Regions from separate parts of the Homo sapiens genome. Here all the other regions are linked to region 3. Evidence: promoter capture Hi-C in 16 types of primary human blood cells and fetal thymus (Javierre and others, 2016). All regions are on one chromosome and are shown on one strand. Each heading gives the region's core, a stretch centred on a gene start or on the middle of the fragment in contact. The rest is flanking DNA. Distances are from core to core; before and after follow the strand shown.

Region 1 (4,098 bases), core at 129-2,628, 1.5 Mb after region 3:
GAACCCTGCTGTTAGTTGAAAGTAAAAGGACTAGGGCTTCAGCACTGTGCATCTCTTTGGAACTTCCTTACTGAGCCTTCAGACACTCTGAGGTCGGAGGCTGAAGGGAGTGAGCCATGCTTCCTGCAGCCATGGTAATTCTCAGTTTCAGCCTTTGCACAGTGGCAGCTGCAACACAGTCATCTCCCTGATTCACCCTCTGCCCCCATTTTTGCAATAAAACATCTGCTTGAAAAGGAGTAAACCAGGCAGGTGAGTTGGATAGTGCTCAAATTACATACTTTAATTGAATACTCATTTGTGGAATTCAGGTTTATGCAAGGTATTAAATCAGGAGGTAGGAGACAAGAGTTCTGATCTCTGCTTCAGTACTTACAAGCCATATAACCTTGGGCAAGTGACTTATTTCTGAGCCTCAGTTGATTAATCTTTAAAGTGGGGATAATAATATCTTGTTTGCTTAAAGGCAGGGGAATGAAACAGAAGCAGCTGTTAAAGATCCCTTCTAGATTCTAGAAAATTAAAGACAATGTGAGCGTTCCTCAAGTAAGGGAGTCATTTTTAGTAGTGTATTTCTTAGATATGATCTCTGTTATAGAGTATAAATAAGTTCACAGCTCTTTTTAACTATTCAAGACAACTGTTCAGACTAGCAAGAAGTCAGGGTCTCCCTCAGCTCCATTGTTGACATAAGGTGTGCCTATAAAAGTGCTATGCAGCCTTATCTTCCTCACACACTCAGCTATTTATCCCGAAGCACCCCATTAATGCCAGGATGTCTAATCCAAAAGGAGATTTGTATCTTCAATAAAGAGTTATTTCCGAATGAGAAAGATCCATACTTCCTGCCTCTGTATTGCAGCTAGTGAATTTGGGTCACTGGTCCATTCTCCTGTTGACTTCAGCTGCGTTCTAGATAGCCCCTCCCACATACACCACTGTGTCTGCACCATAATCTCCGGGAGGGAAGAGAAAGCTTCAGTGCTCCTTCTTGCCTGCAGACTTAATTAGGGATAATCTCAAAGCATTCAAATAATGTAGCGTTTCAATAAGGACAGTTATTTTGTCCCAGAAGCCTCCTTAGTACCTATGCAAATTTGTCCACTGCACTCCCAAGCCAAGTTCCCTCCCCACAAAAAGGCAACGGGTACCTACATTCCTTTTATCCATCAAGATAAGAAGGGACATCCCAACACAAAGATAGCTTGGCAGTCTTCACCACTAAACATTGAGGCAGCTGGCAACAAACCTCTACCTAACCAGACAAGTTAAGAAATTTGTCACTCTCTTTAGCATTGATGTCCTGAATCTTTTTCAATAATGAGTTTTCTGTCCAGTTCTCTCTATCTTAACATAGATGGGAGGATGGTTTCTGAGCAAGTCAATTGCAGATCTAGAAATGGATGTGCATGTCCTTGATTCTCTATGATCATTGCTGTTCTAGCTATATATTCAATGCAGAGCTTGACATTCAAACTTGCATAGGCATCCTCTTTCCAAATTAAAATGGACCCATCACTCATTAGTGGGGGTGAGGTAGTGGCAGTACCAAAGGATGTGTGTGGGAAGGGCAGCATATGTGCTTCTGTACTCTTTATCAGCTGCCCCCAATTAAAAACAATTGATAATTCTTTAATATGACAAAGGGTACTTTCTTAATCTTAGGTCAAGTATGAACGTGGGCACCTTATACCAAGTTGATATTTGTAATGATCTTGTCACTCCCTGCTTACGAGCCTTTCTCCCTCCACAATGGCTATTATAATCAGAGTAGAAAATGAAAGCTTTTATTAGGCATAAGAAGTTCAATGTGACCAGAACCCAGTGATGTAGCCATGACCTAATCTTATATTACTCTGTGTCTAGCATGTACCAGTCTTTAAAAAATGCTCACATTCACCAACACTTCCTCAAATGAGGCTTTTGAATCCACCTGAAATTTGCTTCTCAGTGATTTTTGCTTTGGCTGACTCTTTCTAGGCATTCAGGCTTCTGCTTAAATGTCACCTCCTCCAAGAAGGCTTCTATGAACTCCCATCTGAACTAGTTCTACTACTCCTGTCACTCCTTCATATTATGCAACTGTTTGTCTATCTCCCCCCATCAGAATGTAAGCTCCAGCAAGAAAGACACTTTGCTTATGTTGTTTACTGTATCAATCGGGATCCGATCAAGAGAGAAAAACAGTAATTTCAACAAGGAAAGTTCAATATAAAAAATTATTACCTATAACAGGGAATTGGATCAAAGGGAGATTGGTAAGAGGTAAAGAGAGCTCTAAATAATACAGAAATAGAGATATAAGGAACAGCTACTTACTAACCCTAGGGCTGAGATACAGCATCTCAAAAAGAGCTCCTCCAAGACACAGACACACTCTTAGGGCTGGCTGAGATCCAGACTTTGCTGGAGAGGGCACAGTTGTAACTTTCTGAATAGCAGGAGAGCCCTGCTAGAATTCTGCCTTCTGGAACTTGCTAGAAATCCACATTCCAGAACTCGTTGGAAATCCATTCTCTGGGGTTCCAAGGAAAGCTGCTGAGGGAGGTGACTCATTAGAGGCACTTGCTCCAAAGCCACCTAAGGGGCTTCTGGAGGAAGCTGCTGGCTGCTGGGTGCTGCTGCTTGCTACCTGTGCTGTAGGAACCTGCCCAGTATGCAACCAGAGCCAGGAACCAGGAAACCAAACCCTTTCCTCCTGCAATGTCTCTCCAGCGCCTTCTATTGACCTAGCTTTTTTAACAGCTGGAAAATATTTAAAGGGCTCAGATTCAGTTTCACTAGGCAGGCAATGAGGATGAATTTGGAGCTAAGAGGCAACATATTAATAATAGCCACTTTTATTGTGAAATCCCCATATTCTGGCACATAGTAGGTTTAATAAATATTTGGTGAAGTAATAAATAAATGATTTACATCTAACCAAAGTGAAAAGCATGCTTGGCATATGTCACTTCAAGATTGGAGCTTTCAGGCCTAGCTTTTAACATGAAAGTTGCTGCCAAGTGCCTCCCACATGAAAACTCTGGAACACCCCACCTACCCCCCACTCTGTGGTAGGGATAAGACAGGCCTCCAGATAACATCATAGCTTGGCTCAACAGTTAGCGAGAAGTGCAATGAGAGAAGCACAGCAGAGAAAAGGAGAAAAAGTGGCCATGAGCCCCACTTACAGTCTGTGTTACGGCTAGGGCTGGGCCGCCAGTTGCTGCATTTGCATCTTTCTGAGACATTGAGGTGAGTTACATAGCTCTGCCACGTGGCCAAAATGTGAAACACATCCAAGGGCTATATTTTAATACAGAACTTAAAAAATAAAGAAACATCTTGACTTCTCTAGCCACTTTCCTGTTGACACAAACCATCGAGAGAGATTAGGGGAAAGATCCTTGCTATAAGTGATCTGATATTTCCTAACAGAGCAAAGTTTCCTCTTTGTCCACTGACCCTTTCAATAGTTCTTCGGGTTCTATTCTTAGAATTCTCGTTTCCTGTCCTGAGAGAAAACTGCACAGAATTTCAATAAATATGACCCAAATGATGTGGAAACTTCCTATAAGGATGCAATGAGGTATTCATTCATTAATGCCATCAACAAATATTTACTGAGCACCAACTACCAGACAGTGATGGCAGACATAATTTGGGGAGTTTGGAGTGCAACTGTGAACACAACCAGGTCCCTGTTCTCATGGAACTTGCTAACATTCTGGCTAAAATAGAGAACATGGAACTTCCTACAGAGGCACTGTGGGTGATTTCACAAACCATTGAAAAGCTCTAGTGGGAGCAAGCAACTAACCAACCTTAGAATAAAACATGGTTGTTGCTGGTGTTCTTAGAAACTTCGCTGTCCTCGTGTGCAAATTGTATCACTAAAGTCTTCTCACTTTTGATTCTTGGGAAGGTTTCAGGGCAGGGCTGTCTAATGGAAATATGTAAGCCTCATAATTTAAAATCTTCTAGGAACAAAGTTAAAAAAGTAAAAAGAGGCTGGGCACGGTGGCTCACGCCTGTAATCCAAGCACTTTGGGAGGCCGAGGCGGACGGATCACCTGAGGTCAGGAGTTCAAGACCAGCCTGACCAACATGGAGAAA
Region 2 (3,937 bases), core at 107-2,606, 1.6 Mb after region 3:
TTTTCAGCCCTCCTAGCAAGGGACTATTTTATTTATGTAAACAACATAATGACGAAAATATGCTTGGCAGATGGTTCTAAGCATTAGAATCATCAGTTTGGTCTGCCCCAAAGTGTCTCATTATCTTTTATTCTCTCCCCCTCCACCTCTCCCTGCAAAAAGCTTAACAACCAAATGCATTTGAGATGCTGTACTTTCAGCCTGGTGAATGCTACTCTATTTTTATTGCTCACCCTGGAATTTCACCCCATAACCACTGTGGTATGTTCGTCCAGGTGGAGAGTGGTTTGGTGATTCCCATTGCAGCTCTTCATGGTGGCTTAAGCATTCTTAAAGGATGGCTAAATGCTCCATGGGGCCAGTGCAGTAAATTAAATCAGGTCAGCACAGTTGGGTCCTTATTCACTGCAGCTTATTGGTGCTGGGTTTTTGTCCATACTGTTAGGAATGCAGGCTGGAATGGAAAGCTTGGATTTGAAACTTCATGGTGAATTTGTGTTTTCTTTTGGCTGGTAAAGTTTTTAAGGTGCTGGCATTTAAAAGATTGCATAGCTACACAGTTAGAAGGGTTGCTGATGAAAGAAGGAAGCCTAGATTGCACAAGTAGAGTGTCACTGTCATTCTGGTAATGACTTGGCAAGAAAAGGCATTTTGGGCCTCACATAAAATGAGGAACTGACCCTGGATGGAATTTAAGAATGTCTTAGGGATAGTAATTGCTTTACATTTTCTGCCTTTCAATTCTTCTTAGCTCTCTTTCCTCCATTCCATCATTAAAATATAAACTATTTTGTATGTACGTGTATTAAAAAAAACTGTGTATTTATACATCACAAAATATACAAGGCACCATCTGAAAAATACAAATTAAGATAAACATTGGTAAAACTGTGAGTAACTTTTTAAAGAAAACATGTAGTGGTGGTTTTTCTTTTAACTTACTGTAGCATCTTATTGGTTTAAAATGTCTGTACTTATAAAAATTATTAGAGAATAGACTGTTCTTTGACATTGTTGGGACTTTTGCATATCCACAGTAAAAAAAAAAAAAAAAAAAAAAAGTTCCCAAGGATAGTTTCCAGATACATACAGATTGCTTCCTGCTAAGTGTAATAAGATTTTAGCATATCTCAACCTCTGCACACTGAAAACCTTGGTAGGACACATTTGGAAATTTTTATGGTTGAAGAAAACATTTTGTTCTCCAAGAATTTGTAAGAATCCGAATTAGCCAACTTTTTTGGGTTGTTTGGGTGCTGCTGTTTCAGAAGTTTAGGGTCTTGAGTTTAAAATCACAGCACCAATGTTTTTAAAGCAAAGGCCACAAATATAGAAATCCAATGATTTGCTAATTGATGGAGTTGAGATGTAGGAAAGAATGTATCTTTACTTATCTAAATTCTTAAGACTTAGAAGACTGCAGGTTTTATGGAAAACATTAGTATGAGCAAGGGTCCTGGTGAAGGCTGTTGAAAACTGATTTCCAGTCATGGAAATTAAATTCCATTTTATATTGCCCTGATGCTTGAAGGTTAACTTTTTAAGATGAATGCTGGTTAATAAATTGTGCTGTTAATGTGGCACTGTTGTCACTGCTTCCTTTTAATGGGCTTACTGATGAGATAGTTTTCCTCTTCCTTAGGAAATATGCCAGCCAAATTATAAAGTATGTTTTAATATCATCCTGTTAATATTTGGGGAATCTGTAACCAGCTGACTGTTCTCTTTATTGCTTTCCTTTCCCTTATTTTTTGCAGGCAGAGATTGTCAAGAGGCTGAATGCTATCTGTGCACAAGTCATTCCTTTCCTGTCCCAAGAGGTAAGGTAGTTGATTTTAGGCACTGGACTAGAAGTTGCCATTTTAGTGGTTTTGCAGAAAAGGGATTGTAGAACTGACTCTCTGGCCTTGCCAGTCTCTTGGTGTTTGTATTTTATTTTCATTTCTAAGAAACAGTGTTCTCACTCCAACTTGTATACCTTAGTAACTTTCTGTGGGATATAATTTATATGTGTTTACATAATGGAATATTTTCTAGTTGGGCTAAGCAAAATTCAGTCGTTAAAATATTTTGCTATCTTTGTCGTGTTGCTCAGAATTATGCTTGTTTGTCATAATGGTACCTAATAGGGTAGACTGAAAAATTGCCAGGAAAACAGGAGCTTACTCTGTACTATTGTCATTGGGCATTAAGAATTGGCAGAAGACATATCAAATGGAAAGACTTTTTGTAGTAAACAAACTAATGAAGCTTTTGGCTAGCTACTTTTAAACATTTACTTCTTGTTTCCTGATTAAGTCTTTATATTATTGTGCTTTTGGGAAAAGACCTGCAAGATGAACTCATTGAACTCGTTTCTCTGAGTGCCACTTTTCTCAAAATTAGGCTTTGGTGATGGTAGGCTTAGCACATTGCTAAGGCCTGGCATGCGGCTCACTAGTTCTCTTGCTCACCTACAGGGGAAGTGCATGCCATCAGCAAACAGGCACAGGTTGGAATAAAGCGATGCATTTCTAGTGCTTGTTGGCTTCCTTGTGGTTTTTTTTTCTCTCCCTGCTTACTTTTGGTAGTTACAAAGTTGAAGTGAGAATACTGGAAAAAGATAATTTTTTGCTTCTGGATTACTGAATGCCTTCATTTGCTCAGGTAAGATCCACTCTAAGAAGGAAGGAGCTAATGAAATATCTGCATGTCTTGTAGCCGCAATACTTTGTGCTGTGGGCTGAGAAGGCACAGAGGCACTTTTCTTCCTACCCTTTCAGTTGTTCTATAAGTGTGTTGTGTCACTGCTTTTCAGGAGAGAGGTTCATTCACCTGCTTGCCAGCGGGCATGTGCCAATGTTATGTGGCCAATATTTGAGCCTGCATGTGTATTATAGATATGCAGATTGCTGTATATGATTTTTTTCTTTGGTCTGGACTGGGTTAGACTTGAGTAACTATGGGTACCCTTCATAGGTATATACTGGGGAGGGGGCACTCATATTCACAAATCTTGTTGACACTCTGAATTCACATGCTCTTTTGGGTCTTGATAAACAAAGGGTATGTTGTCTTTTCTCCTCCTTTAGCTGTGACCACAAAACCTACCACCAGTCATGTCCCCATTTGCCTGTTTTTACTTAGGATTTGCTTATGGCTAGATTAGATGGCTTGGTGAATGAGAGTCAAGGGGTGTATCTGCATTTCTTTTGGAAACCTGACTGCCCCCTGCCTGATCCAGACTAGTGTGTATTTTTTACTTTAAGCAGCTCTGCTTTATGGAGATGGAGAATGGGAAGAATGTGTGACCTACAGAGCTGTAACCAGGCTGGGGTGTCATGTTCTAAGGTGACAGGGAAAAGTTCGAATTATCCCTGGGGTGGTATTAGACTTTGGGCCTCTGTAGGCACAGACCCCTGTATATGATCGCTGGTATGGCTTTGGTCTCATCACATTTCTGCAGGATCTGTGGGTTGTGTTCAGAAGTAGAAGGTTGTCTTGGGGATGTTGATGAAGCTGATTTGCCAATGAGTTGTTTTCCCACATGAATTATGTTGTTTGTGTGAGCAGGCCCAGTGGGAACAGAATGTATAATGGTAGTGGTGCTGAGCAAGACTGGACTGAAATTAATTGTCTAAGGAAGTTGTACCTGTAGGTGAAAGCCATGGGGAGATACTGACAACTCATTTGCTCTAGTCTGGGAAGAAAGGTGTCATACTTAACTGTTGTCATACCACTTAACTATTTATTTCCCAAATACTTTGACATTTCTTGGTTGAAATCCTTGACTCACGTATAATGATTTATGCCAAGCTTGTGCAACCCCAGGGCCTGTGGGCCACATGTGGCCCAGGATAGCTTTGAAAGTGGCCCAACACAAATTTTAAACTTTCTTAAAACAGTATGAGATTTTTCTTTGCAATTTTTTTTAAGCTCATCAGTTATCGTTAGTGTA
Region 3 (4,282 bases), core at 1,384-3,883:
AGCTGCTGGGAAACTCAGAGCTGTCACTTTTCAGGCAAATAGGGTTGGCTGGAGAGACCTCAACTGCCCAGTTCACAATTAAACAGAAACAAAGACTGTCAACAGGGCAATAAAATAAAAAAAAAACACAATTCTTAAAACAAGTCTCTCTAAAATACGTGCGTTTCCCCTTAATTATACACTTAAAACACTCTTATTTCTTTTGTTCTTTATTTTCTTCTCAACCTTGAGAACTCAGAAAACATTCAACTGCCTGTTTTCAGCCACTAGAAGTAGCTCAAAATGAGAATTAAAAAAAAAAAAATCTTTACTTTCCAATTGCAGTTTGCCTCCTCCCTGGCTTCATTCCCCTAAGCCCAACTCTTTCATCCAGTGCTTTTGCCTTCTGCTTTTTATAAACATGTGCACATTTATCTAATTGAGTTTCAAAATGAAGACATAAAGAAAGCATGTCATGGGAATTAACTATTAGTAACTATGTGTGTGATCAGTATATTTTGTTCCTGCTTGTAAATGATCCAGTACATAAGCAGTTCATTCCCAAAGGCAATTGGTTCCTTGAGCCAGCAAATGGAATGCTCAAGATAAGAAAGAAAATGCATGCTTCTCACAAACACCAACTAACAGTACAATATTCTTTTCTTACAGAAATGTTTGAGAAACACATTTATTATACATGCAAATACCCAGAACACAAGTGCAGACATTTTTCAGGCCCGTTACTGCAAAGCTGTTTGCTCTTCCTGCCACAGTAGCTCAGGGTTCTGTCACTGTGGCTTGTATATGAACCCTGATCGCTTGATTCTGAACATCCTCCCAGAGATAATCATCAATAAATTTCTATTTGAGAAATGGCATTTTCTTGCTAACTTAGTGTTGAAGCAGAATTTTTTTTTCAAGACTAGAGGGAAATTTTTCCTGTATGCTTCCCGTTTTTCCTTCTCGCCCAGATTCCAAAGACATTAAAATGCTATCTGTTTTAAACAAAAGGTTTCTATTTGTTGCCAAGAGAGTAACTGAGAGACTGCACTGGTTTTCGGTAGTAACTATTGTGAACTGAGGCCTACATCTAGGTTGCCTCATTAAACAAAAGATACCGGTCGCTGTCAACAACCACACAGCACAACGCTCCCCTACCCTCATCTTTATCTAGAAGGAATGGTGCAGACGAGAATAACGCCTGTCACCATCCACTGGCCAACTCTTCTAGGCTCCCTCCTTTCGATGGTCTGGTGGCTAGAGAACAGCACTTGTGTGACACATTTGGGCTTGCCCTCCCGCCTCGCCCCCAGTACACAGACCCTTTCCTTGGAGGGCCAACCACTTGGCTTCCTCACCATGAGTGCTCCGGGAATCCAGCTGCGAGTCTGCCCACCGTTCCCCCATTCCCTCCTGACCCCATAGGGCACTGATAATGGATGCACACCGGCCACTCCACCGCAGGCCATCCCCCAACGTGCCCCGGCTCCGCTCGCCACCCGCTGGGCCACACACACGGCTCCCCACGCCACCACCCCATGGGGTGCCGCGGCCACGACACTGGAAGTTCAACCCCTCTGCCCACCTTTCCACCCCCGCGCCTCTGGTCGGAGTGATCTGCCATTTAGCAGATGCACAGCAGATAAGGTACAGCCCTCAGGGACACGAAAAGGAACAAGCCAAGGCACCGGGCAGGGCAGCCCCGACCCCTGTGCTGCGTGTGTGTGTCGCTGTGTGTGTGTGTGTGTGTGTGTGTGTGTGTGTCTGTGTGTAACGCGCCCGCGCGCCCGCGCGGGTGAAGGCAGTGGCCGGGGGCGCGCCCGGGAGGGTAGGGGCGAACCGCGGGCGCCGGGGGGCGGGGGCGCCGAAGGCAGCTGCCCCGCAGGGCCAAGGATGGTGGGCTGGGGGCGCAGAGGCCCGGCGGGGCCCCGGACGGTACTCACCGAGCAGCAGCAGCTTGAGCTCCCGGCGGGCGTCCCGCTTGTCCCTGCGGAGCTGCCGCTCGATCTCGTCGTTGATCCGCCGGGCTTCCTTGGCCTCCTCGCTCAGGCAGCACGCCATGATGGACTCCAGAGTCATTCTTCCAAAGTGCCTCCGCTGCAGCCCCGCCGGCACCCCCTGCTCACAGCGCGCACACACACCCTCCCGCCCTCGCTCCCCCGAGGCAGCGGTGGCCGCCGAGCCCCCGCCGCCCGGGCGCGCGTCCGGGACGAGCTCCGGGAACCGCCGCGGGGGCGGCGGCCAGGGCCGGGGCCACCAGGTGGGCCGGGGGCGCGGTGGGAGCGGATAGTCTGGGCCGACGGGAGAAGAGAGGCGGGCGCGGGAGGCGGGCGCTGGCTCGGGGGGCGCGTGAGAGAAGGCCGCCGCGCCCGGCCTCGCTCAGACGCCCGCGCCTCCTTCCCCGGGAACAGGCGGCCCGCCTCGCCCCCCGAGCCGCCGCCGCCGCCGCCGCCTGCGAGGCTCCCCTACGCCGTGCGCCTGGCGGCGAGAGCTCATTCACCGGGGTGTCCCCGCAGCGAGCGGCCGCCGACGGCTCCCCGCGCCCGGCGCGCCCGCTCCTCGCCGCCGCCTGACACGGCTCCCGGGCGCCCTCGGCCCTGTCCGCGCCCACCGCCCGGCTCGCGCGCAGACCCGGTTCCCGTCCCGCCCGGCAACCGCGCGCTCCTCCGCCTCCGCCTCCGCCCCCGCCCCCGCCAGACGCCCACCCCCTGCCCCGATTGCCAGGCGCGGAGCGGCTGCTCAGTGCGAGCCCTCCCCCTCGCCACACACACACATTTTCTTCTTTCTCTGAACTGGAGCACAGATCCGGGAGGGAGGAGGCGGCGGCGAAAGGAGGAGGAGGAAGAGGCGGAGGGGATGGGCGCGGGAGGAGGGAGCCGGGAGGCGGTGCCGCCCGGCCCCTCCTGGAAGGCTTTCCTGGGCTCGCGGCCGCCGCGGCGCGCCTCCCAGTGCGGCTCTCGCCTCGCCCGCGCGGCTCCCGGGCTGGGCCGGCCCCCGCGGGCTCTGCGGACGCCTACTGCTCCCGCACCCTCGGCAGAGTCCGCGGGCGCAGCAGTCACGGCCGCCCCCGGCCGAAGTCGGGGCCAGACCCGGCCGCCGACGCGCAGCCCGAGCCGGCGGCCGCCGTTGCGTGCCAGGGCCGCAGCCGACCTGCGGCTGCCGTCCGGCCGGGCGTGGTGAGACAGGAATATGGCGGCCTCTGCCTGCCTCAGCCCACCGGCCCGGGAGCGCGGCCGCGGCCCCTGCTGAAGTCGCGGGAGGCGGCCCCGCGGAGCCCCGCACGCGCTCCCTGCGGCGCCGGCGCTGGCGTCCGCCGCTCCCGGGCTGTGCCTGTCTGCTCCACGGGGTCGCTCCTCAGCCGTTTCTGTGTTTCCCGTTCCTATTTCTAAAACGCCATTCGGTTAGAAACTCTCACGTCACCTCTGACACCGGTGCAGTCTTAGAAAATAAGCTCCTCTATACTGTGTGGGGCTACTGGGGAAGGGAAGGGAAGGAATTGGCACCGGTGCCCAGAGGTGTAGGGGGAGATTCACAGGCGAAGCTGTTCGCAAAGTAACGTGAGATAGAAATCTAAATCCTGAACAGAGAAAGGAAGCTGCCCAAGTTTCCAAGAGCCTCCCGATAGGTTCCAACTTTTCATGCCTTTGTTTTTTTGGTGGTTGTTGGTTGTTTTTGTTTTTTTAAGTTGTTTTTGTTTTTGTTTTACAAGTTCTCTTGTTTCTGAGAAGGCACACGATGTTTAGCCGCCGAGTAATCGAATTTACTCTTCTAGACTGAGATTGAATTATGGATGACTTATGGGAAAATGTAAAATAATGTGGAATAAAAGGAAAGGAAAGAATGAAATAGAAGAGAAACTAAGGAGGCCCCAGCAAAACGGCATTCTAGTTTTTTTGATTTGCAATATGTGATTGAGGCAGTAAACTGTCGTATGCACATTTCATTGTGATCGTCTACTGATAAATAGCACACGAAAATAATCTTGTTTAATCAGGCCCAGGAGATGAAACTCATATTGCTTCCTGCCTTAAAGGAACCTGAGGTCTTCAAAGAAAATTGTCTTTTATGAAGAGAACCGCTTTTTCACGTTTCATGTGTTCTCTGAAGTGTCCCTGGTGCAACCTGCTGATCCAGAGTGTAAGGTACGGTCATGACTCTGCTTTTGCTACAGATCAAGAACTCATATAGGGTTCTTAGACAACAGGTGTGTAACTTCCTTCTTTCTTTCATTTGCCATTACTCCACCGTTTCACACACATACACACACTCTAAACCACGATTTAAATCAAGCAAGTCAAGATAT

What was found. The method cuts DNA at HindIII sites, captures the fragments that hold promoters and counts their contacts. A CHiCAGO score of 5 or more calls a contact.
Region 1: a contact is called between a fragment that was not itself captured here and the fragment with the promoter of GNAQ in region 3, in 1 of 17 cell types (neutrophils). The highest score is 5.1, in neutrophils.
Region 2: a contact is called between a fragment that was not itself captured here and the fragment with the promoter of GNAQ in region 3, in 1 of 17 cell types (monocytes). The highest score is 6.4, in monocytes.

Annotation. Positions count from the first base shown.
Region 1 is chr9:79,565,309-79,569,406 of GRCh38, forward strand. It overlaps LNCARSR (lncRNA regulator of Akt signaling associated with HCC and RCC), which reads right to left and starts at 2,644. Exons shown (of 3, transcript NR_184113.1): 1 at 2,324-2,644. The HindIII fragment of the contact is 808 bases long and covers 975-1,782 here.
Region 2 is chr9:79,610,899-79,614,835 of GRCh38, forward strand. It overlaps TLE4 (TLE family member 4, transcriptional corepressor), which reads left to right. Exons shown (of 20, transcript NM_007005.6): 5 at 1,758-1,820. It overlaps LOC124902329 (a long non-coding RNA gene), which reads left to right and starts at 1,827. Exons shown (of 2, transcript XR_007061903.1): 1 at 1,827-2,646. RefSeq lists an enhancer at 1-944. The HindIII fragment of the contact is 1,783 bases long and covers 466-2,248 here.
Region 3 is chr9:78,029,178-78,033,459 of GRCh38, forward strand. It overlaps GNAQ (G protein subunit alpha q), which reads right to left and starts at 2,634. Exons shown (of 7, transcript NM_002072.5): 1 at 1,923-2,634. The coding sequence starts at 2,058. RefSeq lists an enhancer at 1,823-2,717. The HindIII fragment of the contact is 11,535 bases long and covers 1-4,282 here.